Regions from separate parts of the Homo sapiens genome. Here all the other regions are linked to region 1. Evidence: promoter capture Hi-C in 16 types of primary human blood cells and fetal thymus (Javierre and others, 2016). All regions are on one chromosome and are shown on one strand. Each heading gives the region's core, a stretch centred on a gene start or on the middle of the fragment in contact. The rest is flanking DNA. Distances are from core to core; before and after follow the strand shown. Region 1 holds the start of IQCJ-SCHIP1-AS1 (IQCJ-SCHIP1 readthrough antisense RNA 1). Region 2 overlaps IQCJ-SCHIP1 (IQCJ-SCHIP1 readthrough). Region 3 overlaps IQCJ-SCHIP1 (IQCJ-SCHIP1 readthrough).

The links. Contacts are between HindIII fragments. The CHiCAGO score rates a contact against its expected background, and 5 or more counts as called.
Region 2: a contact is called between a fragment that was not itself captured here and the fragment with the promoter of IQCJ-SCHIP1-AS1 in region 1, in 3 of 17 cell types (erythroblasts, M2 macrophages and endothelial precursors). The highest score is 6.1, in erythroblasts.
Region 3: a contact is called between a fragment that was not itself captured here and the fragment with the promoter of IQCJ-SCHIP1-AS1 in region 1, in 1 of 17 cell types (erythroblasts). The highest score is 5.4, in erythroblasts.

The regions. Positions count from the first base shown.
Region 1 is chr3:159,766,277-159,770,640 of GRCh38, reverse strand. It overlaps IQCJ-SCHIP1-AS1 (IQCJ-SCHIP1 readthrough antisense RNA 1), which reads left to right and starts at 2,029. Exons shown (of 3, transcript NR_121669.1): 1 at 2,029-2,067; 2 at 2,142-2,337. All of the region lies in intron 4 of IQCJ-SCHIP1 (IQCJ-SCHIP1 readthrough), which reads right to left. All of the region lies in intron 2 of SCHIP1 (schwannomin interacting protein 1), which reads right to left. The HindIII fragment of the contact is 15,903 bases long and covers 902-4,364 here.
Region 2 is chr3:159,260,505-159,264,868 of GRCh38, reverse strand. IQCJ-SCHIP1 (IQCJ-SCHIP1 readthrough) reads right to left here. Exons shown (of 10, transcript NM_001414413.1): 4 at 2,186-2,321. It overlaps IQCJ (IQ motif containing J), which reads right to left. Exons shown (of 4, transcript NM_001042706.3): 4 at 1,122-2,321. The coding sequence ends at 2,138. Among named protein-coding and RNA genes, the nearest start is that of SCHIP1, 11 kb to the left of the region's middle. The HindIII fragment of the contact is 4,266 bases long and covers 1-3,948 here.
Region 3 is chr3:159,311,641-159,316,004 of GRCh38, reverse strand. The region is part of intron 4 of IQCJ-SCHIP1 (IQCJ-SCHIP1 readthrough); the gene reads right to left. All of the region lies in intron 1 of SCHIP1 (schwannomin interacting protein 1), which reads right to left. Among named protein-coding and RNA genes, the nearest start is that of MIR3919, 31 kb to the right of the region's middle. The HindIII fragment of the contact is 1,103 bases long and covers 1,745-2,847 here.

The DNA of each region.
Region 1 (4,364 bases), core at 780-3,279:
ACAGGTAAACATACACCTACCACGTGATCAAGCCGTTCTTATTTCTAGTTATTTACCCAAGAGAAATGAAAGTGTATATTCAGGCCCGGCACAGTGGCTCACACCTGTAATCCCAGCACTTTGGGAGGCGAAGGTGGGCGGATTACCTGAGGTCAGGAGTTCAAGATCAGCTTGACCAACATGGTGACACCCCGTCTCTACAAAAATACAAAAATTAGCCAGGCATGATGGTGGCTGCCTGTAATCCCAGCTACTCAGGAGGCTGAGGCAGGAGAATCACTTGAACTGAGCAGGCGGAGGTGGCAGTGAGCCAAGATAGCATCATTGCACTCCAGCCTGGGTGACAAGAGCAAAACTTCACCCCAAAAATAAATAGATAAAGTGTATACATGTGTCCATAACAATGTTATTTGTAATAGCCAAAACCTAGAAACAATGCACATGTATAACAACAGATGAAAATGGTATATCCACAAAATGGAACACTACTCAGCAAGAGTTCAAACGAACCACTGATATATACAATAACATGGATGAATCTCAAAATAATCACTTTCTGAGTTAAAGAAGCCACACAAAAATCCACACATACTGTGATTCCACTTATGTTAATTTTAGAAGGCATAAACTAATCTATAACATAGAAATCAGATCAGTTGGTTGCCTAGGGACAAGATGGTGGTATTACAAAGGAGTGCAAGGATACTTTTGGGGATGCTAAATATGTTCATTATCTTGATGTTCATGATGGTTTCACAGGTGTGTCAAAACACATACATATGCCATACATATGTCAAAACTCATCAAATTGTACATTTTAACTATGTACAGTTGATGTATGTCACTTATACCTTAATAAAGCTATTTTTATTTTATTTTATTTAATTTTTGAGACGAAGCTTCACTCTTGTCACCCAGGCTGGAGTGCAATGGTGTGATCTTGGCTCACTGCAACCTCCGCCTCCTGGGTTTAAGCGATTCTCCTGCCTCAGCCTCCCGAGTAGCTGGGATTACAGGCGCCCGCCACCATGCCCGGCTAATTTTTGTATTTTTAGTAGAGATGGGGTTTCACCACGTTGGCCAGGCTGGTCTCGAACTCCTGACCTCAGGTGATCCGCCTGCCTTGGCCTCCCAAAGTGCTGGGATTACAGGCCTGAGCCACCATGCCTGGCCAATAAAGCTATTTTTAAAGAAAAGCGTCAAAATAGGCTGAGTCTCCAGAGACAGGGAACAGGCTAGACATGGAGGAACACGTCCCATGAAGGACAGGAAGCCTCAGGGACAAACACAGAGAAAAAGATGTGTAATTATATTCCATTTAGGAGGAAGAGTACACTGAGGCAGTGCCCCCCCTCCCACCCCACTTGGCAACAGGTCCACAGAGCCTTTTGAACAGGAGCAAGAGGGCTACAGTGATGCACTAAGGTCCTGGAGAAGCAGAAGAGAGAAAGCCGACTGTTTGTGGCCCGCTCTCATAAGAGGGAAAACTGTCCAGTCCTGTGCACCAGAGTTAGAGTAGGCAAGAAGATAAGAATTTAAGAGAAACATGAACTTCTGCAAGCAGGACTCCTAATCTGACATCAAAGGCACCAACCCCAGAACCTTTCTTTACTCCATCTATGGCCCTTGAATTTATTAAGAGTGTTCACGCACAAGACGGAATACAAGCCCAGGGCAGGACTGTGAGAAGCACACTGACACCAGATGAGCAGGGGCTGCCCATGGAAGGGGCACTTCTGGGAGTAGTTCTGGTTTTTGGGTAGAGCCCCTCACCCTCTCTGCATGTTTCAAGCATTTATTTGTGCCAGGCACAATGCGAACTACTGGGGATATGGCTGTCCCAGGTGATGACATCACAGTGGAGGGCTGGACCAGGTGCTGGAGGTCTGTCTTGAGCCCCCAGCTCTGAGATGGAGCAAGGATCCAGTCACTAGAGTGTTTCCATCAGGACTCCCCAGGCCCTTCCATGCTGTGACACCAAAGATAGTTCCTGACAGCATCCAAGCTCATCATCCTCCACAGATACCAAGAGAGAGATTAGTTTTCTAAACCCATCGCAAAGTGAAGGTCAGTGCTAGGTTTTAAATCCCACCTAAACATTGTGCATTTTTAAATTTGCCTCTCAATCTTATCTGAATTAGGGATAGCTGATTGTCATCCCATTTTTGAGACCTCAGTCATCCTTCTGCGTGCATCACCACAACTAAGAGGAAGGAAAGAGCACTGGATGTGGAGTGAGGAGACATGGATTCTGTCACTACCCTGCTCTGCAGAACCCAATAGTATGTCATTGAAACAAAACAATACAAAACCCTGTCTACAAAAGAAGACTCATAAGTAAGGGGGTTTTGATGATTTCCCAGTTTACTTATGTCCTTAATTCTAAGGAAGTGCAATAAGAGACTTGTCAATAGGAAACCCTTTAAGTTTCAGGGAGGTGGGAGCTCCTTCCTTTCCTTTTATTTCAAATTATTTTAAGCATTAAAAAAGGGGGCGGGGAACTAGTCTGGTGTCACAAGAAAGAACAAAACCCTGTTCATAAGTTTCTCACTGGGTCTGAGGCAAATCACTTAACCTCTCTGGGCTTCAATTTTCTCAACTGTAAAATGGGAGTTGGATTAGGTATGGGTTGTGTTGTTGTCATAAACATTCATTCATTCATTCATTCAATATTTGAGAACCTACTCCATCCCAGGCATGTTCCAGGCAATAGGTTATAGAGTTAAAAAACAGGCAAGAACTCCCGCCTACATTTCAGAGGGACCAAAAATAGAGGACTAAATAAGATAATGTCAGATAGTGACAAGCACTAAGAAAACAATACACCAGGAGTGCTGGAGTTGGGGTGCAGTGCTGTTACTTTACTTTAGGAAGGGTGGTGGGGGACAGCTTCTCTGAGCTGGTGAGAGTTGAACTGAGTCTGGAATGATGAGAAGGAACCAGACACTTGCTTCCAAGCAGAGGTTACAGAAGGGCAAAAGCCCTGAAGTAGGAATAGGCTTACTTGGTGAAGAGAAGCTATCCCCTTTTCATTGTATACCCCATTCCTAGTGGTGTGTATTAATGCCACTTAAATATATTCATACAAGACATTTTAAAGAGGAGTAAAATATCATTGGATTTGAACAGTTCCTTCAAGGCAGGCCTTCTCTTCCACACGGCTCCTTTGTTCTTCTCCGGTTTCTGTCCTCATGGTCATAAATTCCCTTACGTACTCCAGGCAGCACTAAACAGGATTTAAATCAGTGCTTTTCAATCTTTTATAACAGCGACCCATAGTGAGAAGTAAACTTTATGTTGCAACCCACCATACATATAAAACTAAAGTTTTAAAAATTACCAACTTTACTATGACTCCCTGCAATACACTATCATACATTCTATTTTATTTCATTTTTTTAAATGCTAAGGTGATTTCATGGGAAACTTACTGTTTGAAAAACAGTATTCTAAACCAACACTGACTAGTAATTTTGTTCAAACACAAACCAAAACATGAAAAAATCCACCATTAACCTCAAATGCTACCTCCTTCTCCCTTTTTTCTGTATACATCCTTGCTTTGACACAATGAAATCTAAATTTCTCTGTGTAACTTGTAGAGGAAATGACCAGAAGGGGCATTTCCAGGAAAGCTGGAAGTGAAGGAAAGAAACCCAAATATGCAAATATGCAAACTGTTCACTAGGTGAGGATACACCATTGGTTTCAAAGACTGCCCAAGAAGGAAAGATTCATAGTCTTCACAATAACCAGAAGATGCGTTGGGGGTGGGGGTATGAGGTGGTGCTAGGTAAGCCATCAAATTTTAAGTTCCTGGAGGGAAGGCAGTCTGTATCCCTACCCTTCCCTCACCAGAATTTCAGCCCCATGTGGACTGATGTGTAACTACAGCACTCAGAACCATCCCTGGCACACAGCACATACATGGGTGCTCAAAAACAATTTGTTCCACAACTTTTGAATAATGGAGCTCATTGTCACCATCAAACCCTAACTTTGCATGTATACCCAAGTACTAAATTTTCCTGGAATGTATAAATGTCACGCAATAGCAAACTAACCTCCTGCTTATTTCCCACTCATTGTTCAAGCCCAGGTATTAATGAGGTATTTTTCTCAAGCACAAAGTGGGAAAAGGATATTTTCTATTGCAAGGTATAAGAGATAGTATTGACTGTAATGGAAAGATTCCACGTCTGTTAATGGCCATGGTAAACTCCTAAACAGCTGGAATTAAAATGAGTATGCTAATTTATTAAGTAGTTTCCCAAGGGAAACTAACCAGCAGGCTCTGTCAGCCAAGGGCGCTCTCTGATAGAACCATGGCAATTTCTCTGTGAAACACAGTTACCATCCTCACC
Region 2 (4,364 bases), core at 566-3,065, 510 kb after region 1:
CTCGGCTCACTGCAACCTCTGCCTCCTGGGTTTCAAGCCGTTCATTCTCCTGCCTCAGTCTTCCAAGTAGCTGGGATTACAGGTGCATGCCACCACACCCAGCTAATTTTTGTATTTTTGGTAGAGACAGGGTTTCGCTATGTTAGCTAGGCTGATCTCAAACTCCTGACCTCAAGCGATCTGCCCACCTCAGCCTCCCAAAGTGCTGGGATTACAGGCATTGATTCTCACTTTTTATAGGCAATCATGGGTGAGCCAGACTGCCATTCACTGAATACAGTCATCCTCAGCACATGAGCACAGAGCTAAAGGATGATGATATGGTGGGGCTACAGGATGCACCCCCAATTCAGTCTGATATACCTTATGGGAGAACAAATTTCTGGGAACATTTGAGGGAGGAAATATCTTCTACTAAAAACCAACAAGGAATCAGGAGGCTAAGCTAAATTAAATAAAGTAGAACTGTTAGTGAAGCTGTGCAGAGATATAAATGAAGTTGATGACTCATGAACAGGGAAGAACATGCATTTATGCACAAAACACTTATGCTAGAATCGAAGCAGTACAGCCGTACAAATATAAAACAAACATATATTCTCATAGGAGTCCAATAAAACCGAAAGGTTAAGCACCCTAAAGCAACACTAAAACTTTTAGATATCACTGGATTCAGCAGCAATTGAGAATTGTCGTGAATTGGGGCTGTGAGAAGGTACAAAAAAAGTAAATCCAAACATTTAACTCACAAAGTGATTTCTAATATTGAGTTTCCATCATTCAAATAAAATCCAAAAGTCATCTAATTTGCACTTTCTATTGGCATTTACAGCAAAGACATCTTAAACATTCAATTCTCACTTTAGTTTTTACCTCACAAATCATGAGTTAGACACAAACGAGAAGCCCTGGCATTTTCCAGTGTAGTTCACGAGTGCCCTCTAGTGATAGTGAGGTCAGTTAGGATAAGCCATTCCCCTAAATAATTGTTTTAAAAAGTGAAGATTCACTAAATGTTCAATTTCTGCTGTCAATTAAAAATGGATCTTCTGCCACTTTTATTTGCACTGCTATAAACTCAACTTATTCTCTCTCTTTAAATCCATATCTAGGCAAAACCATTTATTGAAGAATATGCAATGCAACCATCTGAAAACATTTCAAATACAGTAACTTTTACCTGATCCCAAAAAGAATACATTGCGTTGAGTGTTGGGAAACCTTTTTACCACAGAATAAACATGATAACCAAAAGTAAAAGAAAAATTTTTGGAAGTAATATACTTGTGTAATTACTTCATTTCTCTAACTTTTCAGCATTTCAGTGACTGGTTACAAATTATCACAATGCTTAAATCCACAAAATCCTGGTTCATAAATCCCTCATCACTGATTTCTTCCCACTTTTGGTGTTTTTTAAAAATAAAGACTTCCAGCAGATTCCCTTATTCCTTAACTCTCTATCTCAGATTTCTTAAACTGGTGGCCTGTAGGTCAATTGTGGTCTGTAGGCATGCTTACTTTACCTTTTAAATTTTCTTACTGGCTGCTAACACTTAAAAATGCAGATTTCTGACATGTCCTGAAGAAAGAAAATCACATTTGGCCATGCCTGCCTGTATCGCCACATGGTGTCACATTGTCAGGAGCCAAGTGCGCTGCCCTTCAGGTGAGGTCTATGTTCTCCGTGTAGCCAGGGGCACAGCTCAGCCACCTCAGTCATGAGGGTGACTTACCTGGCCCCTGGAGACATTTAAGTTGCAACCCCTGAGTGTGTGACCACTTTCAATTCTTCTGGTAAAAGTTCTCTTTCTACTCCTTATAACCAATCTTATCTTCTATCATATTAGCACCACACAATAAAAGAAACACACAGCACATACTAAAAGAAATATGCTATTATAAAGAAAAGCAAAAAAGATACCTCCATAATAGAGAAATGAGAACACATAAATGCAATCTATTTTCTCCAGACTTGATAAAGTTCACTTTGTGCTTATGAATTGTGTCTTTATTTTGAGGTGACAAAACTCTCACCATGGGTTCCTGGGTAGCAAATAAGCTACATAGATCTTCACTGTCACAAACCACCTGCTCACATCCCAAGATTTCTCTCTTAGAACCAAAGTCTAGGCTTTCAGTTGAATGTCAAGTCAGGACATAGAAAAAGAAACATGACACTCACGGGTGTGCTGCTGTCGGAGAAGGTGTTCATGCTGACAGAGCTGCTCAGCTTCTCTGAGGAGACAGAGGGTGGGGACGGGCTCCTCTTCCCCAGGGGCTCCTGCCGCTGCAGGTACTCTCGCCATGCTCGCTGAATGCTGAAAAAACAAAACAAAACAAAAAACAGCACACACATGATTACTGTTGGATCATGGTCCACAGACTCAGAAACTCACAAGGAGTCTGAAGGAATTGGCTTTGGTGCCAAGGGAAGTAGAACATACAGAATGTGATGTAGTGAATCAGGAGACCTGAACTTTAACTTCAATCCAGCCATGGAGACTGTCTCCCTACCTTACTGGTTTGACTTTCACAGACTTGACTGCACTCAACCGGCCTAAAAGAGTCAACTTAATAATAAAATTCATCAGTCAAAACAAACTAGTTTGCACAGGTAAATGTACTTTGATTTATGAGACAACAAATTCTTTCAATTTTTCATCTTATATTTTAGATGAGAATAATAAATAGGCTGACTACTACTGCATGCACTCAATGTGTGATTTTTGAGGGGCCATTCTGTGCCAGGGTCAGCTGTAGACTCTGAACAGGGACTCTGCCGTGCACAGCTCCAGAGCAGTCCTTTGCATGACTGCAAGGTGAAGGTGTCAGTGATGTGCAGCACAGTCTGCATGGCCAAATGCAGTGGCCCTGCTGTGGGGCACAAGGCAGGCGAGAGCACCACATCATGGGTTTTATATACTGTGGAAGGGAATAGGAAATGGACAAAGATTATAAATAAAGAAATGGACAAAGATTATTCAAGTGTTACGTACTACTCAGAGAATTAATGTAATGTCATTAGGCAGCTATTTCAGGTTTCGCCTAAGGAAGTTATTTTCTGTGATTAGTATCAGAAAAAATAAATTATCTTCTGCTCAGGATAACGGAAACCTCTTCTTAATATAAGCTAAGTGATTCCCCCATGGACTGTGTATTAGTCCGTTTTCATGCTGCTATGAAGAAATACCCGAGACTGGGTAATTTATTAAGAAAAGAGGTTTAATTGACTCACAGTTCTGCATGGCTGGGGAGGTCTCAGGAAACTTACAATCATGGCAGAAGGCACCTCTTCTGAGTAAAGGGGGAAGCCCCATGTAAAAGCACCAGACCTCCTGAGAACTCACTATCAACAGAACGGCATGGGGGAAATTGCCCCATGATTCAATTGTCTACATCTGGTCACACCCTTGACATGTGGGGATCATTACAATTCAAGGTGAGATTTGGGTAGGGACACAGAGCCAAATCATATCAGACTGGCTTGTGATCTTTGAGATTAACATCTCGATTTTCATAGGGGGGGTCACTGAACACAGTCTAACCTCTTCTGGGAGTTAACAGTTCATGCGGACTAGTTGTTAGGATTCAGCCTTTTAAAATAGTTTAAGATAGCTGTATTAATTCTATCACTATCTCTTCTAAACTCCTGGAAGCATCTGATCTCTGTAATTCTTTCACACACAACCTATGTCATTAAAGTTGTTTCTGAATCAACAAACTTATTTATTCTCATTTGGCTGGAATAGTTCAAAGATCATCAATTCTCAATGGTCACAGCATATAAATAACAAAAAAAATGTGACCACATTATTGAATCTGTATGTTTTCCCTAATTTATTAAAGGTCTGGGAATTACAATGCTCAAGGAAAAGTCCATCAACTGTAGTGAAAACAATACTTTTGGGTCAGTAGCCAATTCCCTGAAGCTAGGAAACTTAAGCTTTAGGGGTTCTTACTTAAAGGCCAGGAGCCTCTTCCAAGATCCTGATGAGGGGCTCTTCATGATTTGTATAGAATTGTAAAAATAAGATACTTTTAGAGTTTTTTTTTTAAAGGACTCTTCAGATTATACATACTTCAAGCCTCACTAAAGCAGAATCTGGCCCAAATTTGAATTATATTTGGTCACTGTTTTATTACGAAATCTTGCTCAAAGTGCATTTTTATTTCTGTTTTTCTTTGGCTTAAAGATTTTAAGCAGAATGGGAAAGGGAGTCCCATAAGATTGCCTGCCTGAGTTTGGTGGTCTTCTTGCTTCTTCAAGACCCGTTATATCAGAGAGGAGTGAACTTAAGGAAGCTGTCGGTGATGTTCACATCCTCTGAGTTGCTTGGGGTATCCCAGAGCCCAGCTAACAA
Region 3 (4,364 bases), core at 1,047-3,546, 450 kb after region 1:
CATTAAAAGAATGTGAAGAAAGTAGGAAAATCTTCTAACTCCATTTCCTCACTTTACAGATAAGCCCCCTACCCCCTCCCCGACAAAAAAATAAGTGACTTGATGAAGACCCTTCTTTTCACTGTGCCTTTTTATGTCTCTCCTACTGATGAGTATGTTTTATGTCTAACATGTCATAAGTTGGAGCAGTTTCTGTCTTTTGTTTTAATCTTGCTGTTCTACTCTACAAAACAAAACCTACCCTTAGAAATAGACTAGAGCTTATTTATAGAACAACATACACTTAAGTTTAATATCTCTCCCTTCTTATTTCTCTTACCTTCTACTTAAGTTTGCATGACTATTAACTGTCTTCTAATGGTTTCCCAACAATTTATACTTAGGCTATGGTTCTAAAATGATAAAGTATATAGACATTACTTTAGAACTGATATAATTATGAATATATATATAAAAATCATTAGTCACAATGTGATACTACTATACTTATACAAGCATTAGAAGTCCTAAACACTTTGGGAGGCTGAGGTGGGTGGATCATGAGGTCAGGAGATCGAGACCATCCTGGCTAACACAGTGAAACCCTGTCTCTACTAAAAAAAAAAAAAAAAGAAAGAAAATACAAAAAAATACAAAAAATTAGCCGGGCATAGTGGTGGGTGCCTGTAGTCCCAGCTACTCAGGCAGCTGAGGCAGGAGAATGGCGTGAACCCGGGAGGCGGAGCTTGCAGTGAGCCCAGATTGTGCCACTGCACTCCAGCCTGGGTGACACAGTGAGACTCCATCTCAAAAAAAAAAAAAAAAAAAGAAGTCCTAAAAAAAAGACTGATAGTACCAAGTGTTGACAAGGACATGGAGCAACTATAACTCTCATACATTTCTGGTAAGAGTGTAAATTAATATAAACCCTTTAGAAAAGCTTTTCGCAATAGCTACTAAAACCTAACATGAACATTGTTTCTAACTGAGCAATTTCATTCTTGGCTATATGTACATGCAAAAGAAATGTGGACATTCCAACAAAAGACATCTATTAGAATGTTCATAGCCGCACAGTTCCTAAACAATAAAACTGGAAATAATCCAAATGCCCATTAACAATAGAACAGATAAATAGGCTGTAATATATTTGCATAAAAATCATACTTTCCTTAAAGTGGTGATATCAGCTATAAGCCATTGGGATCCAAGTAATTGAAATACCAAAACTCAAATTGGCTTAAACAATAAAGAAATTTACTATTGCTCGTAACTAGAAATCCATAGGTAGGCTCAGTACCATGGTTGATTGGAATGACAGCTTAGTAATATGATCAAAGATCCAGGTTCTTTCCTGCTTTTGTTTTGCTGTTTTCAGTGTTGGCCTCAGTTTCATATTGGAAACAAAATGGTAGCCACAGTTTTAAGCAATATATCCAGACATACCTATGTCCAGAGGTAGAAGGTGAACTATCTTTTACTTATTTTCCCCTATTAAGAGAAAAGAATTTTTCCTTAGGAAAACAAGAGCATGCTTCCTCTCATATCTCATTGGCTACAAGTCAGTCACATACTGATTCCAAAGCACATCACTAGCAGAAGAAACGGGATGATGAAATTTGACTAAGACTGATCTTCTAGAATGAAATGGAGTATTGATCTTCTGACAACTAACAATAACAGTTAATATGAAGAGCACTTATTTGAACTCCAAATACTGGACTTCCAGTTTCTGCTGAGATGGAAACAGTGCTATTCTCAAGCTTACGACAAAATTACTGACAAACAGTAAGTTTACAAACTTCTACCCATCAGAATGCTGAGGTTGTAGGGCCAGCAACTACTCAGAACCTAGGGAAAAGCAGGTGTCTGCAGTGAAAGATAAAATGCAAGCACTGACCCAAACTATCTCCCTGAATATCTATTAATTACAAAAAGAAAAATAGTACCTTTACCATAAAGAAACCTGACAGATATCACTTTATACAAGTGAACAAAGATAATATCACTAGTGATAAGTCAGGGTAATATCATGTGGCTCCTTATATGACACAGCAAAGCACGCACTTTACCTCTGTGGTATTCTCCCAAACTCATAACCTAAGTCTAACCCTGAGAAAACATCAGGCAAACCAAAATTGTGGGACATTCTACAAAATACCTGATAGTATTCTTCAAAGGAGTTAAGGTGATAGAAAACAAGGCAATAATGAGGACCAGTTGCAGATTAGAGGAGATTAAGGAGACATGCCAACAGAATTTAATGTGGGATCCTGGATTAGATGCCAGAACAGAAAAAAAAAATTAGTGGGAAAAATAATGATCTAAATGAAGTCTGTGGTTTGGTCAGTTATATTATGCCAGTTTGAATTTCTTACTTTGATAACTGTACCTGGCTACATTAGATGTTAACATGAGGAGAAACTGGATGCAGGGTATACAGAAACTCTCTGTACTAGGATTGCAACTCTTGTGAATCTAAAATTATTTTGAAATTTAAAATGTTTGCATACAACTACTTACTTCTATTCTTATTTCAGGACTTAAAATCTTCAACAAATATTATCAAAGTTTCACATATTTTCTCAGTTCTCTGCAGCAGTGGCATTTGTGCCAACAAAATGTAGTGGCTGTCATTATGGTCCCTAGGCACTAAACAGAAAAACAAACAGAAAGTGCCCAAGTTTAGGGAGGCACAGACCAATATATGCCAGTTAACAATAATTTAAATGTCATGAAACCAAAGAACTTTGCTTTTGTACTATTTCTTTCTTTCCTGCGTATCTTGCTTCAGAAGTAATTTCCTCAACTCTTCTAGAGCTCGTAAATCTTCTTCTGTAATCCTTATAAATCACTGATAAAGAAGCTTTTTGTTGTTAACTCCATTATATGCTTTAAATAATAAGGACTATAGAGTATTTTACTAAGTAGCTTCATAGTTGCTAATCTGAGCTACAAGAGACCAAACAGATTTAATAGGTTCTTAATATGATACAAATACTTTGGCAATTTCTCAAGATGAATAATAGCAAAAAAGAAAGGATATGACATTTGTGATTGAAATTAAAGAATAATGCAAGGATCTGCAAAAGCAAAGGTAAGAAAAATGCTTTCTAGCTGACTATTGATTATCTGTTTTTCCCTGTTGAAAAATGCCAGCCATGGTGTTTATCCTTGTTCTGCTATGGTTTGCTGAAGGTACAGAGGAGGGTGAGTTGATAATTTTTGCCTTTTTAATTCATAGGTCAGCAGGTGGTAAGAAGCCACCTCTGAAGCTGTTAAGTTGGACCAGGCACCTCCCAGAGATTCTAGACTCTGAAGTCCACGCAGGGATTCAGATTTCCTCATTCTGCCTAAAGGATGAAGTGTGAAATGAGTGCTTGGTGACCAAAATGGGGAGAGAGAGAGAGATTGATAGGTGCTCACCAAACCCCATTTCCACTTCATCCTGAGTAGACAGTCAGAACATGGTTCCCAGTTCCCCTTGCAGTTAGATGGGATAATGAAATTGAGTTTTGGACCTATGTGGGAGGAGGCGATGCACGTCACTTGCGAAATTGGCACAAAATTCCATGCAATCCTCCACACACTTTCTCTTCTGACATTTTTTTGGCTGACTGTTTTTAACCTAAGGCTTCCTTTCTTGTGCCAAGTTCAAAAGAAGGGAACCTTTGTCTGCCTAGGTTACTGAGCCATGGCCCATAGATCACCACTTTCTCACCAATCTGTGATGAACATTGATGTGAGTGAGAAATGAACATTTATGGTCTTATGCCACTGAGATTGTAGAGTTCCTTTTTATAGCAGCTAGCCTACCCTAGCTAATACGGGATTCCTTATGACTTAGAAAATATTAATATAGGAGATCCCTGGCTCATAACCTGCTAAGTGATATACTGTATGTCGTGTCTAGAAAGACCAAAACCAAGCAAGCATGCTTGAATGTCTTTCCAGACACAATGTACAATACTCTGTCTTATAACTTCCTTGCCCTTTTATGTTGTGTTGTCTAGGCTATGGTTTTATTGTATTTGAGATTTTTGGTATGACTATATCTTCCACCTTTCCTGGGATAGTGCTAGCTTATGTCTTTTGCCCCAGCATGATGATTAAACTTTCACTCTCAAAAGTTTGGAAGATAAATTATATGGTCACTCTAACTATAAGCCACCTTATCTCCTTCTTGGGAGTGAATGAGACATAAATAAGAAAATAAATAAAACAGATTGATCATGAAGAGTATCATAATTTATGAGTATTTGAAGTTGCATTTTCCCTATTATTTTTTAGATAGTCAAAATATGGTACTTTCCAGTGCATTGCACAATATGATTTCTTTGCAAGTATACAAATCACAATAATTAGAAAAAGATTAAATGAGAAGC